Regions from separate parts of the Homo sapiens genome. Here region 1 is linked to region 2. The links are contacts of gene promoters, found by promoter capture Hi-C in human tissues and cell types (Jung and others, 2019). All regions are on one chromosome and are shown on one strand. The core of a region is centred on a gene start or on the middle of the fragment in contact, and the rest is flanking DNA. Distances in the headings are between cores, read along the strand shown.

Region 1 (4,384 bases), core at 1,430-3,929, 270 kb before region 2:
GTCCAGGACCTGGAGACAGAATAGGGAAAGGAATATCCTTCTCTATTTACCATTAAAATTCTATCAAAGTGGGAGGCCCAATGGATAACAGGAGTATTCCTGGAAGCCATTCCTACGTGGGCATGGCTAGCAATATCTTAACAATACATAGAAATGACCATGAACCACACAAAAATATCCCACTAAACCCAAAGTAAATGTATCTCCAGCTCAGCTTGCTCTTTGCTTCCTAGAGAGACAGAAAGTAGATTAGTAGTTGCCTGGGGCTGGAGGTAAGAATGGAGAGTGAGGCAAATGAGCCTGAGGAATCTTTCTAGAGTGATGGAAATGTTCTAATTGATTGTGGTGACTGTTGCACAACTCTGTAAATTTGCCAAAAATAACTTTTAATAAATGAAAGTTACGATATGTAGATCATACCTTAATAGAGCTGTTTACAAAGTTTTTTTTTTTTTGAAAAGCGAGATCAGAGATTCGAATGTGAAAAGGCTGTGACATATAAGTAATACTTATGAACTAGCTCACATTGAGTAATCGTTTTGTCTCATCAAGAGTCCTATATACTGTGGGAAAGTTTGTTGTGCACCCGAAACATCTATGTGTGCCGAGCGACTTTGTGGACAGTGCCTCCCCGGTAAACCCGCTCTGTCTGCAGTGTCCGGAGCTTCTCCCACAGGAGTTTGCTAATCCCACCTTTGTGGCCAGATTCTGTGCTGCAAAACGGACATCTCCTCCCCCTCTTCTCCATTCCCCTCCTTCCTAATAAGACTCTTTTCTGGAGAACTGAGGTCAACATCAGATTTCAAATATTTAAAGTGGATACAAAACTATTTCAGCAATGCAGACAATTAGTTGCATTGTTGTGGTCAATGCAGTTGTTGGTAAAACATGTCTCCTGATATCCTACACAACAAATTTCCATCCTAATAGATACAGACTGTTTTTGACAACTATGCACTCACAGTTAGGACTGGTGCAGAGCCATATACTCTTAGACTTTTAATTCTGCAGGGCAAGAAGATTATGACAGACTATAACTCCTGAGTTATCTACACAGATATATTTCTAGTCTGTTTCTCAGTGGTCTCTCCATGTTCATTTTAAAGTATGAAAGAAAAGTGAGGGCCTGAGATAACTCACCACTGTCCAAAGGCTCCTTTCTTGCTTGTCACAACCCAAATTGATCTCAGAGGGTCTATTATTGAGAAAATTACCAAGAACAAATAGAAGCCTATCACTCCAGAGACTGCTGAAAAGCCGGCCCACAACCTGAAGGCTGTCAAGTATATGGACGGTCCTGTACCCACACAGCAAGATCTAAAGAATGGATTTGACAAAGCAATATTGGCTGTCCTGGAGCCTCCAGAACTGAAGAAGAGCTGGAAGCCTATGCTGCTATGAACATCTCTCCAGAGCCCTTTCTGCACAGCTGGTGTAGGCATCATACTAAAAGCAATGTTTAAATCAAACAAAAGATTAAAAATTAAAATTCATTTATGCAATAATGACAAATACCCTGCACCAACCCACATGCATCCATGTGAGACAGGGATTAGAGGTATGGCCCACTTCTCCCTCCCAATACTAGTTAATTCTGAGTAATTGTGTATTGTTAGAAAAGTGATCAGTACTCATTTTTGGTTTTTGTTTCAAAAAACAATTTTGTTTTTACTTAAAAGCAAGGCATGCTTGTGATGACTGTGTAACAGACTAATTGGAATTGTTGAAGCTGCTCCCTGGGTCCATTCTGGAGGGTAATCTGGGACATCTTAGTGGGGTTTTATTTTTTTCTTTTTTGGAGGAGGAGTGTTTGTAGGGTTTGTTTTTTAGTCTTTTTTCTTTTCTTTTCTTTTCTCTTTTTTAATTCATTAACCAGTGGTCAGTCCTTAAGAGGAGAAGGACGGATTGACTCCATATTCGACTTCCTAAATCTAGTTTAAAAAACATGTTCCCTATCTGGGGTGCTTTTAGGAAAGAATATAGTAAATGCCTTATTTAATAACATACCTCTTTTTGAAAGTTACCTTTTCTCTCCACCCTTGAGTAGGCTCAGTATTTGATGAAACTCATGAAAGTGGGTGAAAATTCTCTTGCCCCTGTTCTTTTCTGGGATGCACTAAATATGTGACTGTGACTTTCAAGGAAATTTGTTTGCCGGTTGCTGATTTTTGGGGAAGTTAATTTCTAACTTCTTTAACTGATGAATAAAGAAAAGTATTGCACCTTTGAAATGCAACAAGTGGATTGAGTTTGTAACTTAAAAAAACTTTTTTCCCTGTCAGTCATTGTCTTATATTATTATAGATTTGCAATCAATAGTATATGATGTTTCTAGAATGCAGCTGAAGACCTGGTATGTAGAGGCAATGTGAAGAGCGGTAGCAGAAGACCGACATCTATGGAATGATTCACAGCCTCTCAAGTTATAAGGATGGAGACCTGCTTCATGAAGAAGTTGGGGTGTGGTGGGGATGGATAGAACACTTAACAACATGAGATCAGTCAGGGGAATCTCCTCACTTCTGTGTAGCAGACGAGGAACCCAAGAGCCCCCAAATGAGGCTCTCTGGTTTGTTTTTTTTTTTGAGATGGAGTCTTGCTCTGTCGCCCAGGCTGGAGTGTAGTGGCACAACCTCGGCTCACTGCAACCTCTGCCTCCCCGGGGTCAAGCAATTCTCCTCCCTTAGCCTCCCGAGTAGCCAGGACTACAGGCACGTTCCACCACGCCCGGCTAATTTTTGTATTCTTAGTAGAGACAGGGTTTCACCAATGTTGGCCAGGCTGGTCTTGAACTCCTGATCTTGTGATCCGCCCGTCTTGGCCTCCCAAAGTGCTGGGATTACAGGCATGAGCCACCACGCCTGGCTGGCTCTCTGGTTTAATAAAAATTGTGTAAAGAATCTTATTGAAAGGTGACAATGTGCTGGCGGCCCTCGCTGGCTCTCAGCGCCTCCTTGGCCTCAGAGTCCGCTCTGGCCATGCTTGAGGAGCCCTTCAGCCCGCTGCTGCACTGTGGGAGCCCCTCTCCAGGCTTGCGGAAGCTGGTACCAGCTCCCTCTGCTTGCAGGGAGGTTGAGGGAGAGACGCGGGTGGGAACCGGGGCTGCATGTGGCCTTGCGGGACAGCGCGAGTTCCGGGTGGGCGTGGGCTCCGTGGCCCCGCACTCGGAGGGCGGCCGGCACCCCCGGCCCGGGCAGTGAAGGGCTTAGCACCTGGGCCAGCAGCTGCAGAGGGGGGCGTCAGGTCCCCCAGCACTGCCAGCCGGCCCGCGCCACGCTCAAATTCTCACCAGGCCTCAGCCACCTCCCCATGGGGCAGGGCTCGGATCTGCAGCCCGCCATGTGCAAGTCCCCCCGCGGTGGGCTTCTGCTAGGCCCTAGCCTCCCTGAGGGGCACCGCCCCTGCCTCAGCGGCGTCCAGTCCCATTGACTGCCCAAGGGCTGCTGAGTGCAGGCACGAGGCACGAGCGCAGGACTGGCAAGCAGCTCAGCCCGCAACCCTGGCATGGCATCCACTAGGGGAAGCCAACTGGGCTCCTGAGAGGGGTGGGGACTTGGAGAACTTTTATGTCTAGTTAGAGGATTGTAAATGCACCAATCAGCACTCTGTCTAGCTAAAGGTTTGTAAATGCACCAATCAGTGCTCTGTGTCTAGCTCAGGGTTCGTGGATGCACCAATCAGCACTCTGTATCTAGCTAATCTCCTGGGGACTTGGAGAACCTTTATGTCTAGCTAAAGGATTGTAAACACACCAATCAGCACCCTGTGTCTAGCTCAAGGTTTGTAAATGCACCAATCAGTGCTCCGTGTCTAGCTAATCTAGTGGGGACTTGGGGAACCTTTATATCCAGTTAAAGGATTGTAAATACACCAATCAGCACTCTGTATCTAGCTCAGGGATTGTAGACACATCAATCAGCACCCTGTCAAAACGGACCAATCAGCGCTCTGTAAAATGGACCAATCAGCAGGATGTGGGTGGGGCCAGATGGGGGAATAAAAGCAGGCTGCCAGAGCCAGCAGTGGCAACCTGTCTGGGTCCCGTGCCACGCTCTAGAAGCTTTGTTCTTTTGTTGTTTGCAATAAATCTTGCTGCTGCTCACTCTTTGGGTCTGCACTGCCTTTATGATCTGTAACACTCACCGTGAAGGTTTGCAGCTTCATTTCTGAGGCCAGTGAGACCCGAACCCACTGGGAGGAATGAACAACTCCGGACGCGCCACCTTAAGAGCTGTAACACTCACTGCCAAGGTCTGCAGCTTCACTCCTGAAGCCAGCGAAACCACTGAACCCACCAGGAGGAAGAAACTCCAAACATGTCCGAACATCAGAAAGAACAAACTCCGGACACGCTACCTTTAAGAACTGTAACACTCACCACCAG
Region 2 (4,597 bases), core at 6-2,505:
CTTTTCTAGTATAGGTATAACAATATTACATTTATAAAAATGTGAGTACTGGTAGCTATAAGATTTGGGACAGATAAATCAACCTGTTCATCTTGAGTTTATACACAGGCAAGAGAACTGAAGCAAAAGGATTATCTTAGGTTTCTGCTGTGCCATTCTAGGATTTTTATAAAATTAAACTAAGTGGGTAAATATAGCCCTCTAGTGGTTCTGTTTTATGCTTACACTGTTAACTTTGGTGCATCTAAGCATTTCTCTAATGTTTACTGATTTTAGGAAACTGAGGAGAATCAGATTTTAATAATGTTAATGGCATAAAGAATATGGGAAAAAAGGTAATAGGGATACCTTATTATTCTAACAAAACATGCTCAGGTTGGTTTTCAGGTTGTAATGTGATAATCCAGAATATTTTTATTCTGTACTTTACAATATCAGTGATTGAATTCAGATACTCTGGCAAAGTATACAATGATTACTATCATCAGATAATATTAATTACTCATGTGCATATCAAACTATAGGGGAAATTAACGGATGGTGGAGTTGATCATATTATATCCATGCTATGAAATACATAGCTACTAATAAATTAGACTTTATTAGATTCTGGGTTTATTAACTTGGATATTATAATACAGCCTTATGGGAAAACAAGTTGCATTATATATATACATTTGTACTTATTTTTTTCCCTCATTTTTATTTACAAGAAGAAAGTGGAGGAAACCTGAAACACTTGTATGAATATGTGTATAAGCAGAGAAAAGCCTAAGAAAGGATATGCACCAAACAATACTGGTACCTTTAGGAGAGTGAGATTTGGAAGTAGGAAGGAGACTACTTCTTTGTCACTAATATTTAAATTGTTAAGAAAAAAAAAACAACAAAAGGAGCCGAAATGGAAAGACTTGAATGGTCAACAGAAAACAGGGACCTTAATCCGAATAGTTTTAGAGGACTAAGGCTGGCTCCTATACTGATTTCCTGAGTTTGTTTATTGTTAAATGGGATGTGTGTGCTTGATAATCTCCTTAGATAGAAGACTGATGCCCAAATAGGTTAAAATGTGTGGTGCTTGGTATTTCTTTTTGTTTTGCTAATAAGCTTTTCCCTTATTCTGGGAATTAAAGTCCTTTCCTCTTTAGCCCAATTAAATTTGTTAAGGGAGGGCCTCTATGAAAAGGCCCTTCTTTGAGGTCTCTAAGTGGAAATGATTGGTCCTAAAAAATCTTTCCTCAGTAGCTCATAAAGCAGTTCATAATTATCGAAGGCTTATTATGAAGGGTGTTTCGGTATCTTCCCTCCAAAATGCTAAGAAATAATTTAGGCAACAGTTCAGACTCTAAAAATGAAGATGGCTCGGTCTTTTCACAGACTGAACACAATATTGTTGCAACTTACTTGATTATGGCAGGTATGGATATTTAAGTAAGTTATTTTTCTTTAGAATGGGTGAAGAAAGGCAGAAGTTTTCAGCATAAGGCATGCATTGTTTCAAGTTCCATATTATTGGCCAACCTTGACAAGTCATTTATCCTGACTTGGCTTGCTCGTTGGTAAATGAGGATGATGATACTCTATTTCTGGGCTGTAAAGATCAAATAAGATAATGTGGGTGAAAGAATAAGGGAAAGCATTGTTAGTGATGGCCATTGCCACAGGTTATTTTGAATTTTGGTAAATAAGAGCAGTGAAGTGGGGCTGAGAAAAGTTTTCTATGTGATAAATAGTTCTTTCATAAAAATCTATGTATTTGATTATTGGATTGTTAAAGTTTTTATTGGAGAAGAGTATGCACCATGGCAAAAACATATTTTTATGTCATTTACTATTCTTATACATAACCCTCATATTTTTGTTCTTGGTGGTAGAATTTAGCTAAGAACTTAAAGGTTCTGGAAAGAAAAAGTCCTAAGAAGACAGAGCAGGGTATATTGTCATTGAGGACAGAGTCTGAAAATTCAGCTTGTTCCAGAATGCTTATTGGAAAACTCTTGAGTTTTGGATTTCATCTTTTAGTATATTTGCAACTGTGAGCATGTATCTTCCCTTTTTGTTCTTCCATTTTCTCATCTGTAAAACAAGGATAAGAATAAGTTATCTGTCATGATTGTTATAAGGAGTAAAATTAAGTGACACATAAATGCCATATAGTAGGTGTTGGACAAATATTTGTTTCTTTTTCCCTTTCCTCCCTACACACTCATTGATGTAAAGGATTGTTTGCAGAAAAAAAGGGATGGGGGAATGACAGAAACTTTTTATCTTTTTAATGTATCATTGAATTGTGTAACTTTTATATTGAGCAATCACTTAATTTTCAACTTTATACTCTAACGAGTTGTAGAAGTAACTCTTATATTGAGTTCATTATTTTTTGGATTGACTTTTATAAAAATTTTCAAACATTCAAAAGTAGAGTGAAAAGTATAACACACCATCCTATACCCAGTTTATAATTGTTTACGTTTCTTCCTTATAATTCAGCGTATTACTTCTAGTACTGGAAATTGAGTTCCTCAGTTAAGTTTTGCGATTTTAGTGACGTTATCTCGTTCATTTGAATACCTCTATGATAAGTACTAGACAAGTTCTAGTTTTTTTGTAATTGCAAAAAAGACTGAGAAAATCTCCTAACAATTACATGGAAATACTTTGTATACAAGTGTTTGGTTTAGTTAGTTATTTGTAGATGACCAAAAAAAAAAAAAATCCAAAAAACAACCAAAACTATCCTTTTTTGACCTGGTTACAAAATTAGCATGCAGAAAATATTCTATTTAGTTCTTATCTCTGTAACAGTAATAATAATAGTAATCTTACTACTACTGCTACTAATGTTATCATTTGAATACTTGCTATATACCAAGCACTGTTCTAAAACCTTACACATACAGAATAATTCATCCTTACACTAATTTAGTAAGTTACTCTTCAGTTTTATTTCTCTAGTTTATACAGATGAAGAGCTTAAGAAACTTGTCCAGCACACACATTTACTAAGCAGCTACACCAGGATTTGAACCCAGGCATTTTGGTTCTAGAGCCCTCACATATAAATCCAAGAGTCAGCTTTATCAAGGTATACAATGAGTGTGTGTTGTTTGTGTTTCTGGTGGATCCACTGAAGGAAGCATAGCTGAACTCTTTATGCTTTTGTTCTGCCCCTGTATCAAGCATCTATTTTTCTTTAGATCCCCTAACTTTCCTCCTTTAACAAAACTCACTTAAAGTTGCAAATCAAAACCAAAACTATGAGGAAAGGGTGTAGTGAAAGCATTTATTTCATTCGTTACTTTTACCAAGGGCCTATTTAGATTTTTTATTTAATTTTTAATTTGATCTTTCATTTATAGTTTGGCTCCTATAAACTGTTACAACTTCCAGTGCAACAGACATTTTGTTAATTTAGTGTCCTTGAGCACTCTCCCTTTCCCCAGTTAAGGCTGGGAGGTAAGAGGACATGGTGAATTTGAGGATCTGAAATAAATCATTATGTTTGAACTGTAAAATGAAGGGTGAGAGGTTGAAAAAGATGGCTGAGTACCAGACAGTGATGAGCCGTGTAAGTTTTAAAGGTGACAGGGAGTCACTGAAGGGTTTGAAATGGGAGTGACATGATCTGATTTGTGTTTTAGAAATGTGCTATAGTGGTAGCTAAGGGACCACATAGGAGGCCATTGCAGTGATTCTGAGGAGGGAGTAATCGCAGTGGGGACAGAAAAAAGTAGATACATTCAAGAGCCAGAAGGTGGAATTGATGATTGGATGTTGGGATTGTGGGAGAAGGAGAGAAGTATCAAAGATGATGCCTAGGTTTCTTTTTTGAGCCACTGAATAGATGGTGATGCTCTTCATCAGATGGGAACACACCTGGGGAAGAACAGGTTTGAGGCAGGAGAAAAAGTCTCTCAGTTCAGTTTGAGAGGTGTCCAATAAAAAGCTGGACACATGGGTTTGAGTGTCCGGAGGCTGAAAAATATCAGGGTATAGCCTTGGGTATGAAGAAATTACTCAGAGTATGTGTTAAATGTGAAAAGAAAGGGATCTAGGACAGAAGGTTGGACAATGCACATATTTAATAAGACATAGATGGAGAAAGAAAGGCCAGGAAGTAGATCAAGAAGGGTCTGTTGAAGAGATTGCACGGAAGTCACGGAAGACAAGAAGGAAAATGTTTCAAGAGTGAAGGAGAAATCAACATCAAGTGCTACTTAGTGTTTAGACTGACTGTGAAATGGGACTTAACTAAAATCTAACAACTAGGTGATCTTTTGTATACTCATTAGAAGACCTACAGCTGTGGAAACAAGGCAGTGTGCTTGGTACAGCTGCAGAGAGAATAGAGAAAAGGGCTAAACTGTTTAGTTCATAACCCCCATTATTTCTAAGACTCCCAGAATTATAGTTCCTTTATTCTGGTTGCGTACTTGGTAGGCAGCAATTTACTGCACTGTTTTTATCTAACTTTAAAAAGTCATTGAATTTGTAGCTAGCCCAGAAAGAGTCTTCATTTCATTAAATTCTTCGGAGTATATCTTGTATACATGCTACAATCCTAGATGCTAAAAATAGGGCCAAAGAATCATCAAAT

What was found. Contacts are between HindIII fragments. The study calls those that stand out against the background at their distance.
Region 1: a fragment that was not itself captured here is called in contact with the fragment with the promoter of RRH in region 2 in 1 of the 25 tissues and cell types used here (lymphoblastoid cells).

Annotation. Positions count from the first base shown.
Region 1 is chr4:109,554,332-109,558,715 of GRCh38, forward strand. It overlaps the pseudogene CDC42P4. Among named protein-coding and RNA genes, the nearest start is that of MCUB, 3.7 kb to the right of the region's middle. The HindIII fragment of the contact is 3,956 bases long and covers 702-4,384 here.
Region 2 is chr4:109,826,717-109,831,313 of GRCh38, forward strand. RRH (retinal pigment epithelium-derived rhodopsin homolog) reads left to right here and starts at 1,256. Exons shown (of 7, transcript NM_006583.5): 1 at 1,256-1,417. The coding sequence starts at 1,312. The HindIII fragment of the contact is 8,882 bases long and covers 162-4,597 here.